2 separate regions of the Homo sapiens genome follow, and region 2 is linked to region 1. The links are contacts of gene promoters, found by promoter capture Hi-C in human tissues and cell types (Jung and others, 2019). All regions are on one chromosome and are shown on one strand. Each heading gives the region's core, a stretch centred on a gene start or on the middle of the fragment in contact. The rest is flanking DNA. Distances are from core to core; before and after follow the strand shown. Region 1 holds the start of ZNF879 (zinc finger protein 879). Region 2 has its middle 52 kb from the start of ZNF354A.

Region 1 (5,348 bases), core at 1,751-4,250:
GAGAGTCATCTTCTTGGCTGGGCACAGTGGCTTACGCCTATAATCCCAGCACTTTGGGAGGCCGAGAAAGGAGGATTACTTGAGCCCAGAAGTTCAAGACCGGCCTGGGCAACATAGAGAGACCTCATCTCTGCAAAAAATAATTTTTTTTTAATTAATTGGGTGTGGTGGCATGCGCCTGTAGTCCCGGTTATTCAGAAGGCTGAGACAAAAGGCTTGCCTGAGCCCAGGAGGTCGAGGCTGCAGTGACGTGTGATCACACTACTGCACTCCAGCCTGGGCAACAGAGTAAGATCCTGTCTCTTAAAAAACAAAACAAAACGAATCATCTTAAAAAAGCTTACTAGAAAATTCTAAAAGATCAATAAGCAAAACAACAAGAAGTGCTCATCTAACTTTCTACCACCAGAAAAAGTTAACTTTTTGCTATGTCTCTTCAGGTGATTTTCATGCAAATATGGTTCTATATTTAAATAAAAATAAAATCACATTATACAAATAACAGCATCCTGGTCACCACTGTTTACATGCTGCCCAGTAGTTCAGTGTACAGATGATCTAGTTTATGTAACTCCCCTAGCACTGGATGTTTAGGTTGTTTGCACTTTGTTCATACTCTAGAAATGCTGAATTGAGCATCCTGTACAGAATCACAAAGGCGTACAAAGCTTATCTCCTTCAGACATATTTTTCTTTCTTTGTTTTTTTTTTTTTTTTTTTGAGATGGAGTCTTGCTCTGTCACCAGGCTGGAGTGCAATGGCACAATCTCAGCTCACTGCAACCTCCACCTTCCGGGTTCAAGTGATTCTCCTGCCTCAGCCTCCGGACTAACTGGGATTACAGGAGCGCACCACCAGACCCACCACACCTGGCTTTTTTTTTTTTTGAGACGGAGTCTCGCTGTGTCACGCAGGCTGGAGTGCAGTGGCATGATCTCCGCTCGCTTCAACCCCTGCCTCCCGGGTTCAAGTGATTCTCCTGCCTCAGCCTCCAGAGCAGTTGGGACTATAGGCATGCACCACCATCCCTAGCTAACTTCTGTATTTTTAGTAGAGACCGGGTTTCACCATGTTGGTCAGGCTGGTCTTGAACTTCTGACCTCAAGTGATCTGCCCACCTTGGCCTCCCAAGGTCCTGGGAATACAGGGCCTCTCTTTTTCAAATTCCCCGTGTTAGGAAGGAATTATTTAACTCCTCCGTGTCTTTGTCCTCCACAGGGCAAAAACACCTGGATCTTTCACAAAGCTCTGGTAGTGGCAGTGGCCTGGCATTGGAGCCCCATTAAATTCTTTGTCAAAAAGCATGAGACTGGGGGCCGGGCGCGGTGGCTCACGCCCATAGTCCCAACACTTTAGGAGGCTGAGGCGGGCAGATTGCTTGAGGTCAGGAGTTCAAGACCAGCCTTGCCAACTTGTTGAAGCCTGGTCTCTACTAAAAATACAAAAATTAGCTGGGTGTGGTGGCACACATGCCTGTAGTCCCAGCTACCAGGGAGGTTGAGGCTGCAGTGAGCCATGTCCGTGCCACTGCACTCCAGCCTGGGTAACAGAGTGAGACCCTGTCTCAAAAAAGGGAAAGAAAAAAAAAAAAAAGCATGAGACAGGCTCTGAGGCAAGGGAAACACCTTCCTTCCAGAGTTTCTCAGCTACCAAGCCCTCTGGTCCTTCCCTGAGCTTCACTGGGTAGAGAAGCTCAACAACAGATGAAGAAGTTTACCACGTCTAGACCCTGAAGGCAGTTCAAGCAAAAAGAAGCCTTCACTCACCTGTACATGGGCTGGCAGCAACCTCCTTGCCATTTCTCCCTCCCTGCTGCCTCTCTTGGAGAAGGCACCTGGAATGGAGAAAAAAGCTGTGAGGTCTTTTCATCCAGCCTGCATGCCCACCCTCATTAGGCCAGACCAGGTTAGAAGCCATAAGCTGAGCACCTGCAGAGAAGGAGCCTGGAACTGCCCAGGCCAGAGGGGCCCTAAGTCCGGCCACTTAAACCAGTGTGGGAAGCAGGTTCAGAGTCACCGGGCCTGCTACCTTTCTGCCAGTGCTTTACGATAAAGACGAAAGGAGCGAAGGGATGAAGACCATCTGCCGTGCCTTAACAGGGTCAAGGGCAGAATCAGGCAAGGCTCATTCAGATAAAGTAATAGGAAATGACACAATATTCCACACATCTGCACTTGGATGTTGTTCAATACGAAAAACAGCAGTTGAAGAACTGATGCTCTTTTTTAGGAACAGCCAACCAAAAATTAGTCCTCTTTTCTTCCTCTTGTAAGATTTACTTCCTTTATCAAAAACAGTTATCAAAGCTGCTTAAAGGTAGCGTTACCCATTCTCCCTGGCCCCAAAAAAACAAGGGCGCAAGAAAACAGCATCACTAGCTAGAAATTGATTTAAAATTTAGAGAAATGGGAAGAAACGTAGCAAGTGGACATGGTTACGGTAAATAAAAAAAGAAATAGTTAAATCACTCTAGGACTGGCTGTAGGAAAACACTGCCAAACGTGCAAGACTGCCAAAAACGAGTAAATCTAAAGTTTAAACTCCGGGAAACGGAGTAGGGGGAGGCTTAAACCCACAAACACTAAGAGCGAAAAACCGCCCGGAGGGCTCCGGACCCTGAACCGAGGCGGCATTTTGCAGTTTCTGTTCTGGAGCCGTTTCCCCCGGAGTCCGGCCCAGGCTGCGGCCCAGGAGTCCAGCGGCGTCGAAGCGCCCTCCCGGCCTCCGCCAGGCCCTTCCCAGGCCACGCCCCCTCCGGGGCCGGGTTCACCTGCCGAGGCCGCCCCGGCTCGGACGCCCGGAGCCGGGGACTCGGCAGACACGCGCAGAGGCCAGCCCTCGTCCTGGTCCCGCCGCGGCAGCCGCACGCCCCGGGCCCGCCCTCACCGGCAGCCTGTACCTGGGCCCGCCTCGGCGGGGGGCGCGCAGCTCCACACCGCACAAGAGGCGAGCGGAACACCTAATTCAGAGACGTTTCCCGTCGCTGCCGGGCGCAACTGCGCCTGCGCGCCGGAGAGCCGACGGGTTTCCCTGGCTGAACCGCAGCGTTTGTCCCTCCGGACTTCATTTCCCAGACGTCGCTGCGGCACCACCACTTACGGTGTCCGAGAGAGAACCACAGCGCCGAGAGCGGAGAACGCGGTCGGGCTGTGGAGTTCGAGAAGGCTGAAGCCGAGTCCCTCAGCTTGGGCTCCAACTACTCTCCCTCCGCTAAACCACCCATTGTATTCGTAATTAGAATGACAAAAATAGTAAGACGGAAAAGTGAGTATGAATTTTTAAATCTGGAAGACTAGCCGCTGCTGATTATTCGCAGGTGGTGACAGAACTATTACAGTCCATTCTGCGATTTTAATTAAAAATGAATTATGTCTAAATTTTATAATCTCGGCCGGGCGCGGTGGCTTATGCCTGTAATCGCAGCACTTTGGGAGGCCGAGGTGGGCGGATCACAAGGTCAGGAGACCGAGACCATCTTGGCCAACATGGTGCAACCCTGTCTCTACGAAAACACGAAAAATTAGTCGGGCGTGGTGGCACATGCCTGTAATCCCAGCTATTCGGGAGGCTGAGGCAGGAGAATCGCTTGAACCTGGGAGGCGAAGGTTGCGGTGAGCTCAGATCGCGCCATTGCACTCCAGCCTGGGTGACAGAGCAAGACTCTGTCTCAAATAAATAAATAAATAAATAAATAAATTTTTGTAATCTTTACATATTTACTGGCACTCAGAGTAAAACAAAAGCATAAGCCTAGTATTTCCCTCTTCATGGCACTCACTTCTTTTGAAGTGACTTCTTTAAAACGTAAAATAAAGCCCAACTCCCAGCGCTATCATCACAACTGCATCCTCGGTGACCGGCACTGTACACGCCAAATACTATGTGCTCAGAAAGTGTTGATTTTTAAAATATCAAACATTAGCGTTTACAGAGACAAACCTAAACACAAAGGGTACTTGAAGATAGAAAATGCAGAGAGGGACTAAGAGATATCAGGTAGATAATATGAAAAAGAAATCTTGGATCACGATGTTACAACAATACAAAGATTATTGCAATGTAAAAATAATTAAATCGAACAAAATGGATGTTTTATATTGTTAAAAGATAATAATGCACATCACTAATCATTAGGGGAATGCAGATCAAAGCAGATCAAACATCCACTGCGATTTCACACTCATTAGGTTGGCTATTATAAAATTTGGAAAAAAAAGAAAACCAGAAAACAATCCTTGTGCCTTAATGGTGGGAATGTAAAATGGTAGCGCTGCGCTGGAAAACGGTATGGCAGTTCCTCAAAAAAAAATTAAATGTAGAATTAACACATGGGCAATTCCATTTCTGGACCATATGTTATTTCTATATTTAATTATTATTTTAAAATAATAATAATAAAGATATGACAGTTATAGACCATTATTGACAAAACAACATAGCATTGAGATTTACAAAGTAAAAGGTGCCAGACTGAGTACCCATGATTACCTCCCTTTTTCTCTTCATATTCTTCAAAGTAACCCCAAACACATATAATTTTCAAAGGAGCAAATCTAATGCAACTCTAGAAAAATACCATCAGAACACCAGAAATTGAGGAAACATTTGGAAGACATGCAGGAGACAAGTGCTCTGATACCCAAAATCTAATAAAAAGATTCAGAAGAAAGCAGAGAAAATGGGGAGGGGGAATAATAACAGATTGATTACATACAGAAATAGTGATAGAGATATAGCAGAAAACACATTCAAGCTGAGGAAGCCCTGAGTCTTCAGAGTAAATAAAATGTAGGGAGTTTGGCATAATGAATGAGCTAGGGTAGGGATGGCCCATAAAAAATACATCCTCGATGAAATATCACAACTCTGAGGATAAATAGGAACCCCTAAAAGTGGCCAGAAAAGACGGAATAAAAGGTTGGCATGTGTTATTTGCTACAAGTCACAGAAGATGGAACTGCTCAAGTTGGCTGAAATGAATAAGGAATAGCAAGAAATCACTGGGGCAGACTCCGGCTAGAGAAGAATCGGTGGTTCTATGATGTCAGCAAAAACCAGGTTTTGGCCGGGGGTGGTGGCTCAAGCCTGTAATCCCAGCTATTTGGGAGGCTGAGGCAGGGCAGTTGCTTGAACCCGGGAGGCGGAGGTTGCAGTGAGCTGAGATCGCGCCACTGCACTCCAGCCTGGGGGACAGAGCGACACTCTCAGAAAAAAACAAACAAACACGTTTCTTCCTTTTCTCCACCCTGATCCTCAGGAGCTGGATGTGATGTGGATATGTAAACAAAATCTAGGTTCTGTTGAGAATTAGGAAGGCGAGAGGATATTAGGTAACCAAGAAAGTCCAC
Region 2 (5,348 bases), core at 1,780-4,279, 240 kb after region 1:
CGCAACCTCTGCCTCCTGGGTTCAAGCAGTTCTCTTGCCTCAGCCTCCCAAGTAGCTGGGATTACGGGCATGTGCCACCACGCCCAACTAATTTTTCTGTATTGTTAGTAGAGATAGGGTTTCACATATTGGCCAGGCTGGTCTCAAACTCCTGACCTCAGGCGATCCACCCACCTTGGCCTCCCAAAGTGCTGGGATTACAGGCGTGAGCCACTGTGCCTGTCCCCAAGTGCATTTTTTTGTCATAACTTTTTTCTTAACATAAAGTTGTGCCTTGGAAAATGGTTCATGAATGTGGAAAAAAATTCAGAGTCCACAAAGGTGTCCTCATTGCTGCCGCCCCCCTTCCCCAAGGAAGCCGACGTCGTTCCCTTCAGAGATGTTCTGTGCATAGGTGAGTGTGTGTGCCTGAGTGTGTGTTTGTGAGTGTGTGTAAATGGGGTGAGAGCACCCCCATTTTCTGTAGTTTAGGGTACATACCTCACTTCTCCTTAATGGGACTTAGAGTTGATTCCATTGCTGCCCATAGAAATCTTTGGGTCACTGTTTGTTTTTTGTTTGTTTTTTAGACAGGGATTTGCTCTGTTGCCCCTGCTGAAGTGCACAGTGACACGATCATGGCTCACTGCAGCCTCAGCCTCCTGGGCTCAAGTGATCCTCCCACTTCAGCCTCCTGTGTAGCTAGGACCACAGGTGCATGCCACCACACTCAGCTATGTTTTTTTATTTTTTGTGAAAACGGGGTTTCACCATGTTGCCTAGGGTGTTCTTGAACTCCTGAGCGCAAGTGATTCTCCCGCCTCGGCCTCCCAAAGTGCTGGGATTACAGGCGTGAACCACCGTGCCTGGCCTAGCTCACTTTTATTTTCTTTTTACACATCTGTAGTTGTGATTTTTCTCCTTGTGATTTGAAAACATACTCTCAGAGCACCTCTTTAAGGGATATGTTTGCCCAAAGCCTGAGGCCAACCCTCCAGCTTTCCTCCCCACTGTTGGTTCCTCAGCCTGAGGTGGGGGGTCTGAGCCATTCTTACCAGCAGGAAGGAGGTCAGGAGCCCTGCTCAGACCTTAATGGTGGCAGAAATGAATGTGACTCACTCATTTTCATGGGACACGTCAGTCAGTGACATGAAATGGCAGAGAAGACATCACCTTTTATTCTTTGCCTGAAGGAAGAAATAAAATCATCTTAGAGTTGAAGCCAAAATCAACCCTTCTGGTTTTTGGAGCCATCGAGTCATTTCATGTGGATCTTGAACACCCCCACACTCCCAGTTCATACACGCGGAGCCTGATTAGGGAAAACATTTGCTTTATGAAATTTTTTTTTCACGTATGTGAGTTGAGTATAAAGAGTAGCCTGGGCCGGGCACAGTAGCTCACAACTGTAATCCCAGCACTTCGGGATGCCGAGCCGGAAGGATTGCTTGAGCCCAGGAGTTCAAGACTAGCTTGAGCAACAGTGGGACCCTGTTTCTACAAAAAATTTAAAAAAAAAAAATTAGCCGTGGCTAGGCGGTGTGGTCACGCCTTAATCCCAGCACTATGGGAGGCTGAAGCGGGCAGATCACTTGAGGTCAGGAGTTCGAGACCAGCTAGGTCAACATGGTGAAACCTCATTTCTACCAAAAAAACCCCAAAAATTAGCCAGGCATGGTGACATATGCCTGTAATCCCAGCTACTCGGGAGGCTGAGGCAGGAATCACTTGAACTGGGGAGGTGGAGGTTGCAGTGAGCCGAGATTGTGCCACTGCACTCCAGCCTGGGAGACAGAGTGAGACTCTGTCTCAAAAAAAAAAAATTAGCTGGGCATGGTGTGTGCCTGTAGTCTCAACTGCTTGGGAGGCTGAGGTGGGAGGATCACTTGAGCCCAAGAGGTCAAGGCTGCAGTGAGCTAAGATCACACCACTGAGCTCCTGCTTGAGCAACAGAGTGAGACCCTGTTTCAAAGAAAAAGTTCAGACACCAGGCACGGGGCTAGGGAGGGGGCTCCTTGCCACCCCCCTCACACTCTTGGCTTTCTTCCCTGTGGGAGTGGAGTGACCCCGTCCTCAGCGTGTTCTGCCCTTGCTCTGCTCGTGTGTGTGTGAATGCATGCATGTGTGGTGTGTGCATGTGTGTGTGTTGTGTGTGCATGTATGTGTGGTGTGTGTGTGCGTGTGTGCTGTATGTTCCTCAGCGTGTCCTGCCCTTGCTGTGCTCGTGTGTGGCTGTATGTGTGGTGTATGCATGTGTGTGTACACCTGTGTGTGTGTGTGGTGTGTGGTGTATGTATGGTGTGTTTATGCATGTGTGTGTGTGCATGTGTGTGTATAGTGTGAGGGTCTTTGCCCTCCTGCAGATTCACCCTGCTGCTGTTTCCCTTCCCACACAGGCTTTTGGGTCAGGGGATGGCTGTTGGCTGTTGTCAGCAGCGGGCCTAAGTTGGAGGGTTCACGCTGCTCCCCTGCATGATGGCCCATGGAGGCTGACTCCATTTCCAGCTCATTCCAGAAACAGGAGTGTTTTTCCATGTAGCATAGTCTCTTGTGTGAGACATCACACTCCACGGTCTTTGCAGCTGGGAACGTTTCTGGTTTTTTTGCTTTTGAGACAGAATCTCTCCCTGTCACCCAAGCTGGAGTGCAGTGGCACAATCTCAGCTCACTGCAACCTTTGCCTCCTGGGTTCAACTGATTCTCATGCCTCAGCCTCCTGCGTAGCTGGGATTACAGGCACACACCACCATGCCTGGCTAATTTTTTGTATTTTTACTAGAGATGGGGTTTCACCATGTTGCCCAAGCTGGTCTTGAACTCCTGAGGTCAGGTAATCCACCCATCTCGGCCTCCCAAAGTGCTAGGATTACAGGCATGAGCAACCGTGCCCGGCCACGTTTCTGTTTTTCCAACCGTTAAGTCCACGTAAACCATGGCGTGCAAGCCTTCCCACGTGATGAGTCCGCATAGGCAGCGTCTGCTGGGTGGTTACCACAGGCAAAGCTTCCATTTTCTGCGATCCTGAATCTTGAATTTCAGTGTGACCACAAGAAGTCATTTACTTAGTGCATCCTCCAACAGCAAGGCTCGGCCAAAACGTCAATCACCAGATGAGGGGGGTTCATTCTAATTTCCATATCACCTCTCCCACTGCTGCCTGAAAAGAAGCCCCACCTGTCTGGGATGTTGCAGTGTTTGTCTGGGAGAGTAGATGTTTGTCGTCTTTGCACTTTCTCTTTTGTTGCTTACTGACTTAAAAGCAATTTGTCTTGGGCTTCTGAATTTCGACTCTCCTTTTGTCATTGCTTGCGGGAGGCACCGACATCACCTCCTGCTTCATGGGCCAGAATATTTCTCTTCCTGTGTATAAAGGGGAGATTCAGGCCTGGAACCTGGGCATGGCCGTGGATGCGTGGAATGAGGAAGGTGATGGCTCCGCCAACTGTTTCTTCCTGTGATTAGGCGTGAGTTGGGAGCTTGGGAGCGCTCGGATGTGTAACTTTGCTTGGTGATAGTTCTCCAAAACAGCCCTTGGAGGGAGGCCCCTGTCACTTGCAGCGTGATGTCCTTCCCCCCCAGCTTGGTTTAACACCCACCGGCTCCTGGTCCCCAGCTCCTGAGAGGTCAGGGTCGAGCTGGAGGACAGAGAGCTGTGTGCTCAGGAACGTCGGGCAAGTGGGTGATCGTTGCCCTGAATCTGAACCCTGGTGCTGGATACACAGGCAGCGGCCGGCTCTGAGCATCTGAGAGCCCGGTCATGGAAGGGATAGTCTCCTGCTGTGCTGTGCCTGGCAGCTAGAAACCCAGCTGTGCTAGGAAGGGTGAGCAGGGCTCAGTGCACCTGTTCTGCAGAGCAATGCGGGAGCAGTCAGTGAAGCTGAAGATGCATATGTGCCCTGTGATCTAGGAATTCCGCTTACGGAAGACAGACTTGTGATCCATGCAAGAATGTTTGTAGCCCCATGATTTGTAATGAAAACAAAATTGGGAACAATAGAAATGTCCATCCTTGGGCAGAAGTTCTGTGATCACACATGGCAAATGACCAAGCGGTAAATAGGAATGAACCAGAGCGACAGGTAGTAGCCCGAACGAGCCACCCAGATGTCATGTTGAGTGAGCACAGGAAGACGCGGGACACATAGAAGGACAGCGTGTGTGTGTTCAAAGGTATGCAAAGTGATGACACATAGTATTCAGGGATGCGTATGGATGGAGCAAAAATGTTAACACACATGGGAATAACAAATCACTATGTCCGAGACAGCGATTTTGGGGAGCACACAGGGAGGGGACTTCATGGGAGGAACACATTATTAGGCTCCCGTGAGAGGTGTGTGGGCGTGGACCATCTCTGTACCTTTGTGTATGTCTGGAATATTGCGTAATAAGTAATAGCTTAAGAGAGAAGAGAGAGCCAGTGTGTGGCTGTGGTGTGTGTTGGGCTTATTTTTAATTCTCCCATACCAGGAAAGGCGGTCTGGGGGAGACAGCAGCAAGCTGGTGTGTACTAAGCCGATCCCTTGCCAGCCCACACACTTCTGGAACAATGAGAACGGCAACAAGTACAGGAAGGCGTATTTCTCCAAATTCCCAGGTCGGCTGGAGAGATGCAGACAGAGCTGCCGAGCCTCTGCGTTGTCTGGGCCTTCCGTGCCTAGTCGTGTGTCCTCGTCCTTCCCCTCCCATCCTGCCCCTCCCCTCTTCCTTCCCCCACCAGGGCTTGGAGAAGCTGCATATAGCTCATTCCTCCAGTGGGGCGATAATCAATTTTTGATGAATATCTTGTCTTCAGCTTGAAGCTATCATGTGTAACTATAATCTGGGTTTAGCTGAATCTCAGCCACCTCTGCCCAGGGCCCCGGCCCCTGCTGCTGGGCGCTGGCATGTGCCTCTGGTTTGCACGTGGGAGGTGGAGGGTGCAGGGCCCACTCGCTGAAACAGGGTGATGCCAGGGTGATGCCTGCCTGTTCACGAGGAGCGGCATGTGGAAGTGGTGTCTGGCTCGGGTCTCTTCCTCTGTGTGTCTCACCATCATCCAGTCCTCGTGGAGATGCTAAGGAAGAGTGCTTTTGCGGTGGAAGGATTTACAACCCGACACATCCCTCTCACATAGACTGACACCCCTGAGTGTGGTTTGAGTGGTGCCTTGCCCCAAAGCAGGAAAGTCTTTTATTTAAAGCTCTGATTCCTGCCTCCCTCTAATCTTATTTCATAAGCAGTCTCAAGTTATTGCTGCCATATAATTCATCGTTTAGCAAACCTTCTGTTTCAGAGTTATTTATACTAAGTACTTGCTTGCTGCAGTCTCTCAAAAGGTAATGTGAGTGAGCAAAGAAGGACGCGGGGCACATAGCATAGACGTATGG

The links. Contacts are between HindIII fragments. The study calls those that stand out against the background at their distance.
Region 2: a contact is called between a fragment that was not itself captured here and the fragment with the promoter of ZNF879 in region 1, in 1 of the 25 tissues and cell types used here (spleen).

The regions. Positions count from the first base shown.
Region 1 is chr5:179,021,456-179,026,803 of GRCh38, reverse strand. ZNF879 (zinc finger protein 879) reads right to left here and starts at 3,000. Exons shown (of 5, transcript NM_001136116.3): 1 at 2,900-3,000; 2 at 1,767-1,834. The coding sequence starts at 1,799. RefSeq lists an enhancer at 2,871-3,372. The HindIII fragment of the contact is 17,237 bases long and covers 505-5,348 here.
Region 2 is chr5:178,780,315-178,785,662 of GRCh38, reverse strand. It overlaps the pseudogene AACSP1. Among named protein-coding and RNA genes, the nearest start is that of ZNF354A, 52 kb to the right of the region's middle. The HindIII fragment of the contact is 4,602 bases long and covers 729-5,330 here.